Linked DNA regions of Homo sapiens: region 2 is linked to region 1. Evidence: promoter capture Hi-C in 16 types of primary human blood cells and fetal thymus (Javierre and others, 2016). All regions are on one chromosome and are shown on one strand. The core of a region is centred on a gene start or on the middle of the fragment in contact, and the rest is flanking DNA. Distances in the headings are between cores, read along the strand shown.

Region 1 (7,233 bases), core at 4,723-7,222:
AAAAAGGGAAGAGGATCTTAGTCAACTTCTTTGGTTGGGTTCCTCATAGAGTGTAAAACATTTCATTCTCAGAAAATCCAACCATATCTTAGAGTAGCTCCAGAAATTGGCTTAGAGGAGCTCCGGAAATGTGGAGTGACCACACTCTGCTTAGTTAGTATGCTAATACATGTAAGATCAGTAGGAGGAGAAATGAATGTGAATTTTATTATAGAATTTTCTGAGAGTGATTATGCTTTATAGCTCCAGTGAATATGAATATGTATTGAGTTGTATTTTCAGTCATTAAAAATGTAGGATACTTTTTATTTGGGCCTCATTCTCTTTGTAATTAAAGAGAGGAACAAGCCCATCTATTGTAACAACAAATGCCTCAGAGATATGTGTATTGTGAATTACTGCTTAATTATGGAAAAAGTTTCTTAGGTTCTATGCCATCAACTTTGTAAGATTGCATTCTCTTTCTTGTGAATAATTTGAATGCCTCCACCAGGAAGTGGTGCGAATCATATCATCTAAGTATATGATGAATCTTTAAGGGGTGTTGCTGTGTAATTTGAATTATTTTGCAGTTATGTAGCTATCCTAATGAGTGAATGGTACTAGTTTACATATAAGGAGAACTACTTGAGCTAACCTTGATTTTAAAAAATTAGCATTAGCACCCCCATTATATTAATTTTCAGAGATAGTAAATACTCCAAAATGAAACAAACAAAAATAACAACAACAACAAACACCTTGCACATGAATGTTTGTAGCGGTTTTAATCATAATTGCCCCAAATTAGAAGCAACCAAAATGTCCTTCAAAAAGTGAATAGATAAACCAACTGTGGTATATCTATGCAATGGAATATTATTCAGCAATATGAAGAAATGAGCTGTTGAACCATGAAAAGAGATGGAAGAACATTAAATTCATGCTGCAAAGTGAAAGAAGCCTGTCTGAATAGGTTAAATACTGTATGATTCCAACTATACGACATTTGGAAAGGCAAAACTAGAGACAGTAAAAAGATCAGTGGTTGCTAGGAGTTTGGGGGAGGAAGGGATTACATGGAGCACAGGAGATTTTTGGGGTAGTGAAACTATTCTGTATGATGCTACAGTATGGGTACATGACATTATGCAATTGTCAAAAACCACAGAACTGTATGACAGGTAGAGTTAACCATAATGTGTACTATAGACTTTAGTTAATATATTAATATTGGATCATTAATTGTAACAAATGTACCACATGAATCCAAGTTGTTAGTAACAGGATAAACTGTGTACGTACGGGTGGAGAAGATACACGAGAACACACTGCACTTTCTCCTCAATTTTTCTGTGAAACTAATACTGTTCTAAAATAAAGTTTGTTAATTTAATAAAAAGTAAGATTACAGAAGTTGTAACTTGACTTTATTGGTATTTGTAAAACATATAACCCAACACCAGCTGAACACATGTTTCTTTTCAAGAGCACATGGAATGTTCATTAAGATTGGGCCAAAAAATAAATCTTAATAATTTTGAGATTAATATGTTTTCTCTGATCACAATAGAATTTTTGTAGATCTATCTACAAAATTGTAGATATCTACAATATGATATCTACAAAATCCTAAAATTTACAGATTAAATATTAAATAAATAAATACTATAATAAATATTAAATTTAAATAGTTAAATATTTAAAATACTCATATTCATATTTAGAATGAAAGCAAGACACACTTTTATATAATCAATATATTAAAAAATAACAAGGAAAAATATAAAATATTTTGGACTGAATAAGCAAAACACAGCAAATCAAAATTTGTGATAGACAGCTAAAGTGTGGCAGCTTTAAGCGTTTATGTTTAAAACAGAAACATTTTAAGAAACAATGATTTAGGTTTCTACCCTGAGTAGAAGAATCAAGGAATAAATTAAATATAAAATGAATGGAAAAGAAGAAATAATAAAAATAGACACGGAAATAGAAATGATAGAGACACATTAATTCTATTAATTTCTATTTATAGACATTTCTATATATAATATAGAAATTATAAAGTGTAATAAAATGGAGAAACCTCTATCAAGATTGAAGAAGAAATAACAAAGAGAAAACTCAAATTACCAATATTAGGAATAAAAAGGGAAGGGCATGAGTCAGATCTGAAAGACATTAAAAGGGTAATGGGGAATTATAAACATCCTCTAAGAAAAAATATGCAGTTCCAGACGGTTTTTCAGGTGAATTCTATCAAATGTGTAAGAACAATATTTTACCTGTGTTACACAAACTCTTTCAGAAAGTGGAGAAAGGGGCAACTTTTCGTAACTCATTCTATAAGGCCAGTATTACTCTAATATCAAAACCTAACAAGAAGAGAAAATTACAGATTAATATCGCTCATAACATAGACACAAAAGTCTTTGGCAACACTTTAGGAAAACCAAATATAAAAAGATGATCTTTTGTGACTAAGTAAGTTTTTCCCCAGGAAGGCAAAGATTCATTTAACACCTAAAAATCAATCAATGTAATTCATCATATTAAGAGAATAAAAGAGAAATGTCCTATGGTGATCTCAATAGCTGTGGGTCTCACACCACTTACCAAAAACATTCTAAGTAAAGCAGGAATTCGAGAGAATTCATTTCTGTGATAAAGCATATCTACAAAAAATCTTCAGTTAATACCATACTGAATACTCTTAACCTATGATTAGGAACTGGGAAAGAATATCCATTGTCTCTTCTTGTATTTGATAGTTTCCTGGATGTTGCAGCAAATGTAGAAGATAAGAAAAATTAATAAAAGGCATAGAGATTAAAAGAGAAGAAAGAAAAGTGCCTTTAAGCACAGAAAACGTTTGTCTATGTAGAACATCTGAAAGAGGGCTGGGCACAGTGGTTCACACTTGTAATCACAGCACTTTGGCAGGCCGAGGTGGGCAGATCACCTGAGGTCAGGAGTTCAAGACCAGCCTGGCCAATATGGTGAAACCTGGTCTCTACTAAAAAAACAAAAATTAGCTGGGCATGGTGGCACATGCCTATAATCCCAGCTACTCAGGAGGCTGAGGCAAGAGAATCGCTTGAACCCAGGAGGCAGAGGATGCAGGGAGCTGAGATTGCACCACTGTACTCCAGCCTAGGGGGGATACAGCAAGACTAAAAAAAAAAAAACACTAAAGAATCTACAAAGAAACTACAAAATGTAAATAGAAAATGAGCAAGGTTTCAATACAAAAGTAAATATATCAAAAGCAGTTGTTTTGTCCATATACTACTATATGCCAATATATGTATATAGTACGTGAGTACACACACACACACACACACACACACACACACACACACACACACACCCCATCATCATCATCATTTTCAGGGGCTAGGGAAGTTGATATTGGTCAATTATCAATCTCACCCAGGGCCCTGACAGCTGGCCTATGGAATTATTGCAAGTGATATTGGTGCCCTTGGGGCATAAAGCTTTTAAGCTAGCATGGATCTTGTATCTACCTGATGTACATCTTATGTCCTCGTTCCTGGGAGAAGACAGCTCACAGACAGCTGAGTTTTTGGCTGCACATCCTACTTAGAAGAGAAATGCCTGATTGTGCCATGCTGACAAGTGTTGGTCCTGGCAAATACAGAAGGAAATAAAGAGAAATAAAAAGCATGTAGATTACAACAGAAGGAAAACTAGCTTTATTCACAGAAACATGATTCCTAGAAACATTATTGTGTATGTAGAAAATCCTATGGAATCTGCAAAGAAACTACCTGAAATCAAAAGCGATTTCAGTGAGGTTCAATATACAAACTCAATATGTATGCATATATACATTTATGTACATACACAGTCATGCACCTCATAACAAGGTTTTGGTCAACAATGAACTGCATATACGACAGTGTTCCCATAAGATAATATGACATTGTTACTGTTTCTTTTCTGTGTTTAGATATATTTAGATACACAAAGACTTAACGTTGTGTTACAATTGCCTCAAATTCAGTATATGCCGTACAGGTTTGTAGCTACAGGCTATACCATATGGCCTAGGAGTATAGTCAATTATACCATCTAGGTTTGTGTAGGTACAGTCTATGATGTTTGCACAATGACGAAAATCACCTAATGATGCATTTCTCAGAAGGTATTCCCATTGTTAAAGCGACACTGGACTGTATTATATGTATTACCTATATTCTACCAATGAACTATCAAAAATTAAAATTTAAAAGATTCCATTTACAATAGCATTTACAAACCCCATAGAATACTTAGAAATAAATTAGCAAAAGCTGTGGAAGATCTATGCACAGACAACTGCAAAACAGTTGCAAATTTTCTCTTAAAAAGCCAGATAGTATGAGGTTGGTACAAAAGTAATTGCGGTTTGAAAGTAATGGCAAAAACCACAATTACTTTTGCACCAGCCTAATAAGTAGCATAGCCTTTGTGGGTCACGTTGTCTGTGACACAGACTCTTTGTGTTTCTGTGTATTCTGCTGCAACTCTTTAAAATTGTTAATAGGATCCTTCACTCACTGGCCTTACATGTAGGCTACAGGCTAAATTTGTTGGCCCATAGGCTGCAGTGCTGACCCTTGCTGCGAAATATTTCTAGGAGAAAATACTCAAGACCTAAATCTATGGAGATATATATCATCCCTGTGGCCTGGAAAAGTTAATATTGGCAAGTTGTCCATCTTGGCCAGGACCCTGAAAGATAGTCTATGTTATTGTAAGAAAGATTGGTGTCCTTGGGGGCATGGGCTTTTAAGCCAGGGTGGAATCTGCAGAAGTCTGAGGTGCCATTTCCTGTCCCTATACCTGGGAGAAAATAGCTCTCAGACAGCTGTGTGGCTTTCTGCAAAGCTCAATTAGAAGAGAAATTATCAGGCGTGGTGGCGCATGCCTGCAGTCTCAGCTACTTGGGAAGCTGAGGTGGGAGGATCTCTTGAGCCCAGGAGTTCGAGGTTGCAGTGAGCTGTGACTCCAGCCTGTGTGACAGAGTGATACGCTGTCTGGAGAAATTCATCATGGAGATATGCTGATAATTGGTGGTCCCTGCCTACATCCTCCCAGGAGACTGAGCCAGACCCGGTGTGGCCAATGGTCCACTTATAAATTGAACCATGTTAGACCTCCTAACAGTGCAAGTACTCATTACAGCTCTGACATGGTGCTAAGCACCCCAAGTATTATAAACAAGTGTAATCCATTATGCACACACGGTGAGGCTACACCAAAGTCTGGTGGTTAAATGCATGATCTGTGGAATCAGACAGCATGGGTTCAAACCCTGGCTGGGGTGAGATGGGGAACTTTCTAAGGCTTAAATGCTGTTTTACCAAATATTTTAAAAGAAGTGAAAATACACTGCCTGTTAGAAAGGGAAGTTTTGGGGTGAAGCATGTGGGCAGTTTAGAATACCTGGTGTCCACCTCAGAAACCATCACAGCCCAGATGTTATAGGTTCAGGCCTTTCCAGGGCGGGCACATAGAATGTCCTCGCCTCCAAGGTTTGGAGAGCTGCGCTATAAAGGTTCTTGCAGGCGGTGTCCTGAGCCCAGAGCTGCCTGCAGGCGGGCAGGAGTTGTGGGGGTGTTGGCATGATCTGGTGTCCTCTGTGGCGGCTGCCTGAAAAGAAGAGGCCGAGGGTTCTTTGTCCTATGTCTCTCCGAATCTTAATACCTGCCCTGCAGCAGACTCCCTGGCTGCCAGGGCACACCGGTCACCCCGGTAGACGGTGCCGCCCCGCCCTCGCCAACCCCTTATCCCAACTCCCATTTCCAGCCTTCCAGGAAGCCCGATCCCCACCCCCGCACCATGTGAGCTGCTCCTCTACTCCGCGTAGGGGAGGCTCTGCCTCCGGTGACCCCGAGGGAAAGAGCTAGAGCACCCACAGGTGCTGACTGCTGCGGCGCTGAGGACGCTGCACACCCGTTCACCGGCTGACCCAGTGCTGCTGACAACCAGCGTCCGCGGCCCCCAACCGTCGAACAGAGCGCGTGGGACCATCTGGTGCCAAACGCCTGCAACGGAGTGCAGAAGGTCACGAGGCGCTAGAGACCGGTTGGGGGCAGGCGGTTGGGCCTTGACGCTCTTTGCTGGGCGTCGTTTTTTCTTCTCGCCCCCTTCGCTCCTGTGCGCTTAGTGCACAAGCCCTGGGCTCACACACCCTTTCTCTGTCACGTGTTCCAACAGCATCTCACCTGCATCGGGCTGAACAGGAGACCTCAATTTTCTCCTCTACTCCAAGGATTCGCCGGCTCACAATTGCTCTTCATATCTTCAGCAAGCTTTGTCTGTGCCCTGCCCCTCTGTCCCCCATTGCCTACCATACCCGCTCCCACCAAGCCTGCATCACCTCGCTGTCTCTGTGCCTCTCCCCGGCCCCCTTCCAGGCCTTTCTCCCACAATTTCTGGTCTTTGCTCCTGGGTGTTCCGTCGACCCTAAGAGGCGGTGTCTGATCTGGCAGGCTCAATGCCTTTCTCTGGCGCTGTCTGCACCTCCAATATATTCAGTGACTCAGGAAGGATCCATCCTGCAGGGCCCAGATAGACTCTCCTGTTTGCCACCTGAGCAGAAAGGCACCTCTGTGAGGTCTTTGCCACCCAGTCACCCTACCAGACCCAATCAGCACGTGGGAGACGTGGATGACAGGAGGACAGAGATGGAGAGGGACCAAAAGACTACATGGGGCCTTGAAGGATGTCATAAGAACGTTGCCTTTTACTGAGAGATGGGAACCATGGAGGGTTTCAAACTGCTGAGACTGGCATGATATGACTTAGGGCTTTTTTGTTTGTTTGTTTGTTTGTTTTTTCTTTTTTGTGACGGAGTCTCAGAGTCTTCCTCTGTCATCCAGGCTGGAGTGCAGTGGTGTGATCTTGGTTCACTAGAACCTCTGTCTCCCGGGTTCAAGACATTCTCCTGCCTCAGCCTCCCGAGTAGCTGGGATTACAGGCACCCACCACCACGCCCGGCTAATTTTTGTCTTTTTAGATGTTTTATCTCAGAGAAAGAGCTTCCATGTTCTCTAACTCTTGTAAACAGGTATTCTTCAAGAAACTTTACAATATAACATTCATACACAGAAGTGTACAAATCATCTGTCTATTCCTCAATACATTTTTGCAGAATGAACAAACCTATGTAATCTAGATCAAGAAGCAAAACACAGGCACCTCAGAATCAACCTCATGCTCATTCCTAGTCACTATGCCCCT
Region 2 (6,796 bases), core at 327-2,826, 3.0 Mb after region 1:
TTTCCTGAAATTTCCTACCAGGAGAGGCTCATCAAATAACATGCTTCCAGCTCTTATTCTTCCAGTTCCCAGCATCCACCCAATATGTCCCATTATAAACCTCCTTTGTTCATGTAATTACTGAGCAAATTATTCAGCATGTCTTAAGAGCCCTCTATCAAGGGCAGTGGTGGAGTTAAGTCCTTTTAAGTAAAGATTTGTGCTTTTTGGGTCAAGTCTAGTTTGGTAAGATAGAGTCAATGGTTGTATTTGACCATCCATAACAAAACTTAAATTATCACCGACTGGAGATTTCCAGGAAGTGAAGATGAAAATTTGGTATTGAATGATCAAACTCAGTCATTCATTGGGTGAAATCTCATGCTTTGTGTGGTTCAGTAAATGACTGGGGACTTGCAAACTTGGAGGTTATGGATTTTGGCAAGAAACCCCTCAGGAATAAATATCAGGACTATTCTGATGTTGGATGGAACCTACTAAATTTAGATGACATGTATATAATTCATTATTCTTCCTTAGTATTCTTTAACTCAATGCATTTGTTATCTATTATTACATAACAAATTAGACCAAAACTTAATGGCTTAAGACAGCAAACATTTATCTCACAGTTTCTTTGGATCAGAAATCCAGACATGGCTTAGCTTGCCTCTCTGGCTCTCGATCTCTTACAAGGAGATCCAGGTTTTGGTCAGGACTACAGTCATCTTAAGGCTTAACTTGGGGTGGATCTTTTTCTAAGCTCACTCAACTAGTTGTTAACAGGATCCAGTTTCTCACAGGCTTCAGACTGACAGTCTTAGTTCCTCATTCGCTGTTGCCTGGAAGCTGCTCTTGGTTTATTGTCATGTGGGTCTGTCCATAGAATAGCTTAAAACATGGTGGCTGTGTTTTAATCAGTGAGCAAATGAGACATCAAGAGAGGGAGAGAAATACAGAAAAAGTGCTGAAGTAACATTTCAGCACTGTAGCTATTCTGCTTATTAAGAGCAAGTCACTTGGTTCAGCCCACGTGCAAGGGAAGGAGATTACACAAGCATGTAATACTATCGGATGGGGATCTTTGGTAACCTATATAGCAAGCCAGGTGCTCAGTGAGAGATGGTAGAGAGCCACAAAAGAGAATGTCATTATAAGTAGCAAGTGAACACAGAATCCTAGAACTGGGGAAGACCTTAAAAATGTTGTGTATCCTAACTGCATTGTAAACAAGTAAGTCTGATATTGCCCTAAGATATAATTCTCATGTGCCCCCAAAATACATGGATTTGTCAAAACAAGAGAAAAATGCTTATGGTGAGATCTGATGTAATGAAGTATTTAATGCTTGAGAGAATTCTTAATTTTATGTAAACCCTATTTTCTAAAATCAAGGCCAGGTGCTGTAATCCCTGTAATTCCAGGTGTTCACACCTGTAATCTCACCACTTAGGAAGGCTGATATGGGAGCATTGCTTGAGACCAGGAGTTCAAGACCAGCCTGGCCAACACAGCAAGACCCTGTCTCTATTAAAAATAATAATAATCAAGACTTTATACTTCATTTGGGGAAAATATCTGATTAAATTTTTTGCTCCTCTTAAAAGCAAAAATTTTCCCCAGCAACTCATATGTATTTAAAAATTTATATGGCAGATACCAATCAGACATTATGCTTATATTCACTGTTTACTTTCATAGGCAAACATTATTATTTTATTTATTCCCAAATGGTGCAAGTATTTTAGAGTATGCCACATAGTTTTCTATATGCCAGCAGTCTTTTTCAAAAATACGTATACATTCCACTTCAGTCCCCCTCATACTGTAAATTTGTAGACAACATGCTTGTTACATTGCTCTCTTCCTGCAATACAGTCCTTATTTCCCCTCCATCCATCTTGAAAGTATTCCTTTAATTTCTCCAGTAACACTATGGGTTTGCCATTTCGGGCATCAATGACATTCAGGGATGTGGCCATAGACTTCTCGCAGCAGGAGTGGGAATGTCTCGACCATGTTCAGAAGACCTTGTATTGGGATGTGATGATGGAGAACTGTAGTAACTTGGTATGTTTTCTGCCTCAGACAATTTAGGATAACTTTGAATCTGCTCTCTAGGATGATTTTTCATTGTGATTTTTAGGGCTGTCTTTCAAGAGACTAGTTAAATTTCTTTTCCCTTTTCCCCAAAGAAGTGGTTTGGGCTTTGTTGGGTAGGAAGTGACAGCTTCACTAGACATACTCATCTTCCCTGTCCCTCAGTGATGTTCAAACTTTTCTCTGGTCATAGTTACAGTTGTCTTTCTTCTTTTATAAGGAAGGGCTAGATTAGGATTCAGCAGCCTATATTATATAACCATTGTAAAAGGATCCAGGTTTCCTATTTCTTTATGCTCCGAATTACTGTGGATACTCCATTATAGCATCTGATCCACTTGCAGATTACCTTGACATAGGATCCTGAATTGCTCTAATTATCAAAAGAACCTTTATAATGTATATAGCTTTGGATTAGATAAATTGAATTCATTTAAAACTGAAGCAAACACATTCTATTTCCTAAGCAAATTTTAACTTATTCGTGGTTGAAAGTTGTGGTTTAAAGTTGTCATCTATAAACATTACATTTTAAATGGAATGAATATCCTATAAATATCTTTTCTTGTATACTCTTAACAAAACAACAATATCAATAATAACCTTAGTAGTGAACACTGTGTCTATTAAAGGTAGTGTTCTAAGCATTTCACATATATGTCTCAACCAATTTAATCCTTATTAAATTCGACAATCTTATTATATCCTCATTTTCCAGTTGAGAATATTAAAGCCCAGTGGATTTAAATGACTTGCTGAAGGTCATGCACAGCTGGGAGGTGGTAAAGGCAGGAATTGATACCAGGCTCTAGAGTCTGTATTTTCAACCATGGTATTATGTGTACTCTCAGGAAAAAAAAAAAAAGATATGGGTGTGTAGGTTATATTTAAAATCCTTACCCAACCTAACTGATTTCTTGTTCTTTAATTTCCTCATCCTCTCAAAAACCTTATTCAGTTTCATTTTGATCCTTGATTTATTACAATTGTAATTTTGACAGCAAAGTATGTTTCTATATCAAGTGGCCTTTTTTTCTTTGTAAGCAGGACATGACTTTTCTAAGCCAGATGTAATTACATCATTGGAGCAAGGAAAAGAGCCCTGGATGATTGTAAGGGAAGAAAAAGGAAGATGGTGTACAGGTAAAAATAAGTCTGACTGTGGGAAGCCATCTGTGTAAATAACAACCTGTGTGGTCAGGGAAGAGACATACACTTGGGATGTTAGTTGGAAATCTCCATTCACAGCAGAGAAAAGGTGTGTGATTTATAAGGAAGATAAATACTCTGCATAAGCTACCCAGTGAGCTTCACCTTCACCTTAACATTCCTGGATGGGAACTTGCTATCCTTGAAGTGACAAAAGAACAAATGCCATCCCTCCAAGATCTGGTGTCTGGTCTACCTGCACGTCCAGGAGTCCCAGCCAAACCCCGGCTCTTCTTTTCACTTTTCTTGCTTTTACCTTCTTCTTGCTCATCAATTTTTACGATGTCTTCCTTAGGTTCTTCTGTAGTCACCTCTGAAATATCCTTCAAATCTTTTTTCTCTTTCCACAGCACATCTGCAATTCTGCCTTTTCTCATTGACTTTTTCCAAAGCCTTTTAATGTGTTCTTTTCTTTCCAGCTTAGAGATCACATCTCCATAATCTTTCATGCTACCTTGATCTATGGCTTCCATGGCGTCTGTGGCCTCCAGGGCTTCTGTGGCCTCCATGGCCTCTATAGCTTGTAAAATGACCTCCTGCTCTGTTTCAGCATAATCCTGGGATTTGACTGTGCTTAGAGAACTCAGTGGTAGCTCTGGCTCTAAGGTAACATGTTGGGTTTCAACTAGCTCTGATTTCCCGGCCTCTCTTTGTTCACCTGCATCTTCTGAAGGCATCAACATGGAACTAGACATTTCCAATTTTGTCTTTCTGTGCTTCCTGGCAACTCTCAGGTCCTTTTTAACTGCAGAGATATTGGGAGAAAAACAGTTAACAGAAACACAGAGGTCTTGAGTAAGATCCTTTGTAAAATCTAATTCATTGAGCTACCATAAGAGATACAAAGCAGGGGGACTAAGGCTTTATGATATGGAAATGCTCGGTTTCATCCCACCATCCATATTCTAACAAAATAAGAGCTTGGTATTTGCTGTGGGGTAGATCTTTCTCAGGAATGTCACTTTCTGTGAATAAGATTCTCCCACTGAACTCCATTCTCACTAGTATCCTTTCATATACCTTGGCCTTACCCACCCTGCCTTTTGGGGCCCTGAGGTTGGCCCCAAACATGCCCCATATATCACCCTATACATACTAAGCTTTCTGCTCCTTGCTTGAAAATGTCTCTTTCTTTTCTTTGGTTTGGTGATCTTTACAGGTTCTGACAAAGGTATGCACATGTCTTCAGAAAAGACCTTAAGTTCTTCAGACCATGGTATATCAAAAGAAAAAGTAAATGACTTTTCTCTTTGTAACAAGGTCAAGTTTTCATTTAGCTGCTGCTCCACATGAATAAGCAGGGACTGTATATCTTCAGCTTGAATATTCAGCAGTTGGCCCAGAGTGATTTCTCCGATAATTTCTTGCCTATATAAGTCAAGGGAAAAGAAGTACAGTACTAAGCTAGTGATAGAACAAAATTCAAAAAAGAAAAAGTTACAATGGAAGAGAGGGATAAAGTAGTAATTTAGAACAGGCTGAAGTAAAGTCTGGTTAAAGAAGAAAGAATGTAGCTGGATGCAGTGGCTAACGCCTGTAATCCCAACGCTTTGGGAGGCCAAGGTGGGTGGATCACTTGAGGTCAAGAGTTCAAGACCAGCCTGGCCAATATGGCGAAACCTCATCTCTACTAAAAATACAAAAATTAGCTGGGCATGGTGGTGGGTGCCTGTAATCCCAGCTACTCGGGAGGCTGAGGCAGGAGAATCACTGGAACCTGGGAGGCAGAGGCTGCAGTGAGCCAAGATAACATCACTGCACTCCAGCCTGGGTGACAGAACGAGATTCCGTCTCAAAAAAGAAAAAAGAAAGACTGAGGGATGGCAAGGAATGTAGTGCCACATAACTCGTTCTATTGTGCGTTGCTTTATTATGCTTCACAGACACTGTGTTTTTTACAAATGGAAGGTCTGTGGCAACCCTGCCTAGAGCAAGCCTCTCAGCATCATTTTTCCAACAACGTGTGCTTGCTTCTTGTCTCTGTCACATTTTGCTAATTTTGATAGTATTTCAAACTTTTTCATCATTATTATTGTATCCATTTTGGTGATATGTTATCAGTGATCTTCGAAGTGACTATTGTAATTGTTTCAAGGCACCGTGAGCTGCACCCATGTAAGATGGTGAACTTCACCAATAAATGTTGTGTGTATTCTGACTGCTCTATTAACCAGCCATTCCCCCATCTTTTCTCCTCAGGCCTCGCTATTCCCTGGGACACAACAATATTGAACGTAGGCTAGTTAATAGCCCTACAATCTCCTCTAAGTGTTCGAGTGAAAGGAAGAGTCACATGTGTCTCACTTTAAACCAAAAGCTAGAAATGATTAAACTTAGTGAGGAAAGCATGTTGAAAGTCCAGACAGGCTGGAAGCGAGGTCTCCTGTGCCAAACAGCAGGCCAAGTTGCACATGCAAAGGAAATGTTCTCGAAGCAAATTAAAAGTATTACTCCAGTGAACACACAATGACAAGAAAGCGAAACAGTTTTATTGCTGATGTGGAGAAAGTTTTAGTGGTCTGGATAGAAGATCAAACCAGCCACAACGTTCTGTTAAGCCTAAACCTAATCCAGAGCAAGGCCCTAATGCTCTTCAATTCTATGGAGGCTGAGAGTTGAGGAAGCTGTGGAAGAAAAGTTTGAAGCTAGCAGAGAATAATTCATGAGGTTGAAAGAAAGAAGCTGTCTCCAGAACATAAAAGTGCAAGGTGAAGCAGCAAGTGCTGATGGAGAACCTCCAGCATGTGATCCAGAAGACCTAGCTGAAATAACTGATGAGGGTGACTGCATTAAATAACAAATTTTCATTGTAGACAAAACAGCCTTCTATTCAAAGAAGATGCCATCTAGGACTTTCATGGCTAGAGAGGAGTCAATGGCCGGCTTCAAAGCTTCAAAGGAAATGCCATGTCTCCTGTTAGGGGCTAATGCACCTAGTAACTTTAAGTCAAAGCTCATGTGTATTTACCGTAATGAAAGTCCTAGGATCCTAAAGAAGGGTGCTAAATCTACTCTGCTTGTGCTCTATAAGTAGAAGAACAAAGCCTAGATGACAGCACATCTCTTTATAGCATAGTTCACTGAAGATTTTAAGCCCAATATTGAGACCCACTGCCAAGAAAGATAGATCATTTTCAAAATATTACTGCTCACTGACAATGTGCCTCATCACCCAAGAGATGTGATGGAGATGTATAAGGAGATTAATGTGGTTTTCATGCCTATTAACACAACATCCATTCTTCAGCCAATGAATCAAGGATTAATTTTGACTTTCAAGTCTTATTTAAGAAACACATTTTGTATGGCAATAGCTGCCATAGATAGCAGTTCTTCTCATGGATCTAGGGAAAGTAAACTGAAAACCTTGTGGAAAAGATTCAGCATTCTAGATGCAATTAAGAATACCTGTGATTCATGGGAAGAAGTCAGGTATCAACATGAACAGAAGTTTGGAAGAAGTTAATTCCAACCCTCACGGATGACTTTCAGAGGTTCAAGACTTCAG

What was found. The method cuts DNA at HindIII sites, captures the fragments that hold promoters and counts their contacts. A CHiCAGO score of 5 or more calls a contact.
Region 2: a contact is called between a fragment that was not itself captured here and the fragment with the promoter of LINC01801 in region 1, in 1 of 17 cell types (M0 macrophages). The highest score is 6.1, in M0 macrophages.

The regions. Positions count from the first base shown.
Region 1 is chr19:34,826,897-34,834,129 of GRCh38, forward strand. It overlaps LINC01801 (long intergenic non-protein coding RNA 1801), which reads right to left and starts at 5,973. Exons shown (of 6, transcript NR_033982.1): 1 at 5,829-5,973; 2 at 5,434-5,640; 3 at 3,510-3,630; 4 at 2,268-2,357. The HindIII fragment of the contact is 2,823 bases long and covers 3,478-6,300 here.
Region 2 is chr19:37,820,685-37,827,480 of GRCh38, forward strand. It overlaps LOC644554 (a long non-coding RNA gene), which reads left to right. Exons shown (of 5, transcript NR_040013.1): 4 at 3,127-3,222; 5 at 5,488-5,954. It also overlaps the pseudogene WDR87BP. Among named protein-coding and RNA genes, the nearest start is that of ZNF573, 44 kb to the left of the region's middle. The HindIII fragment of the contact is 5,620 bases long and covers 1-4,386 here.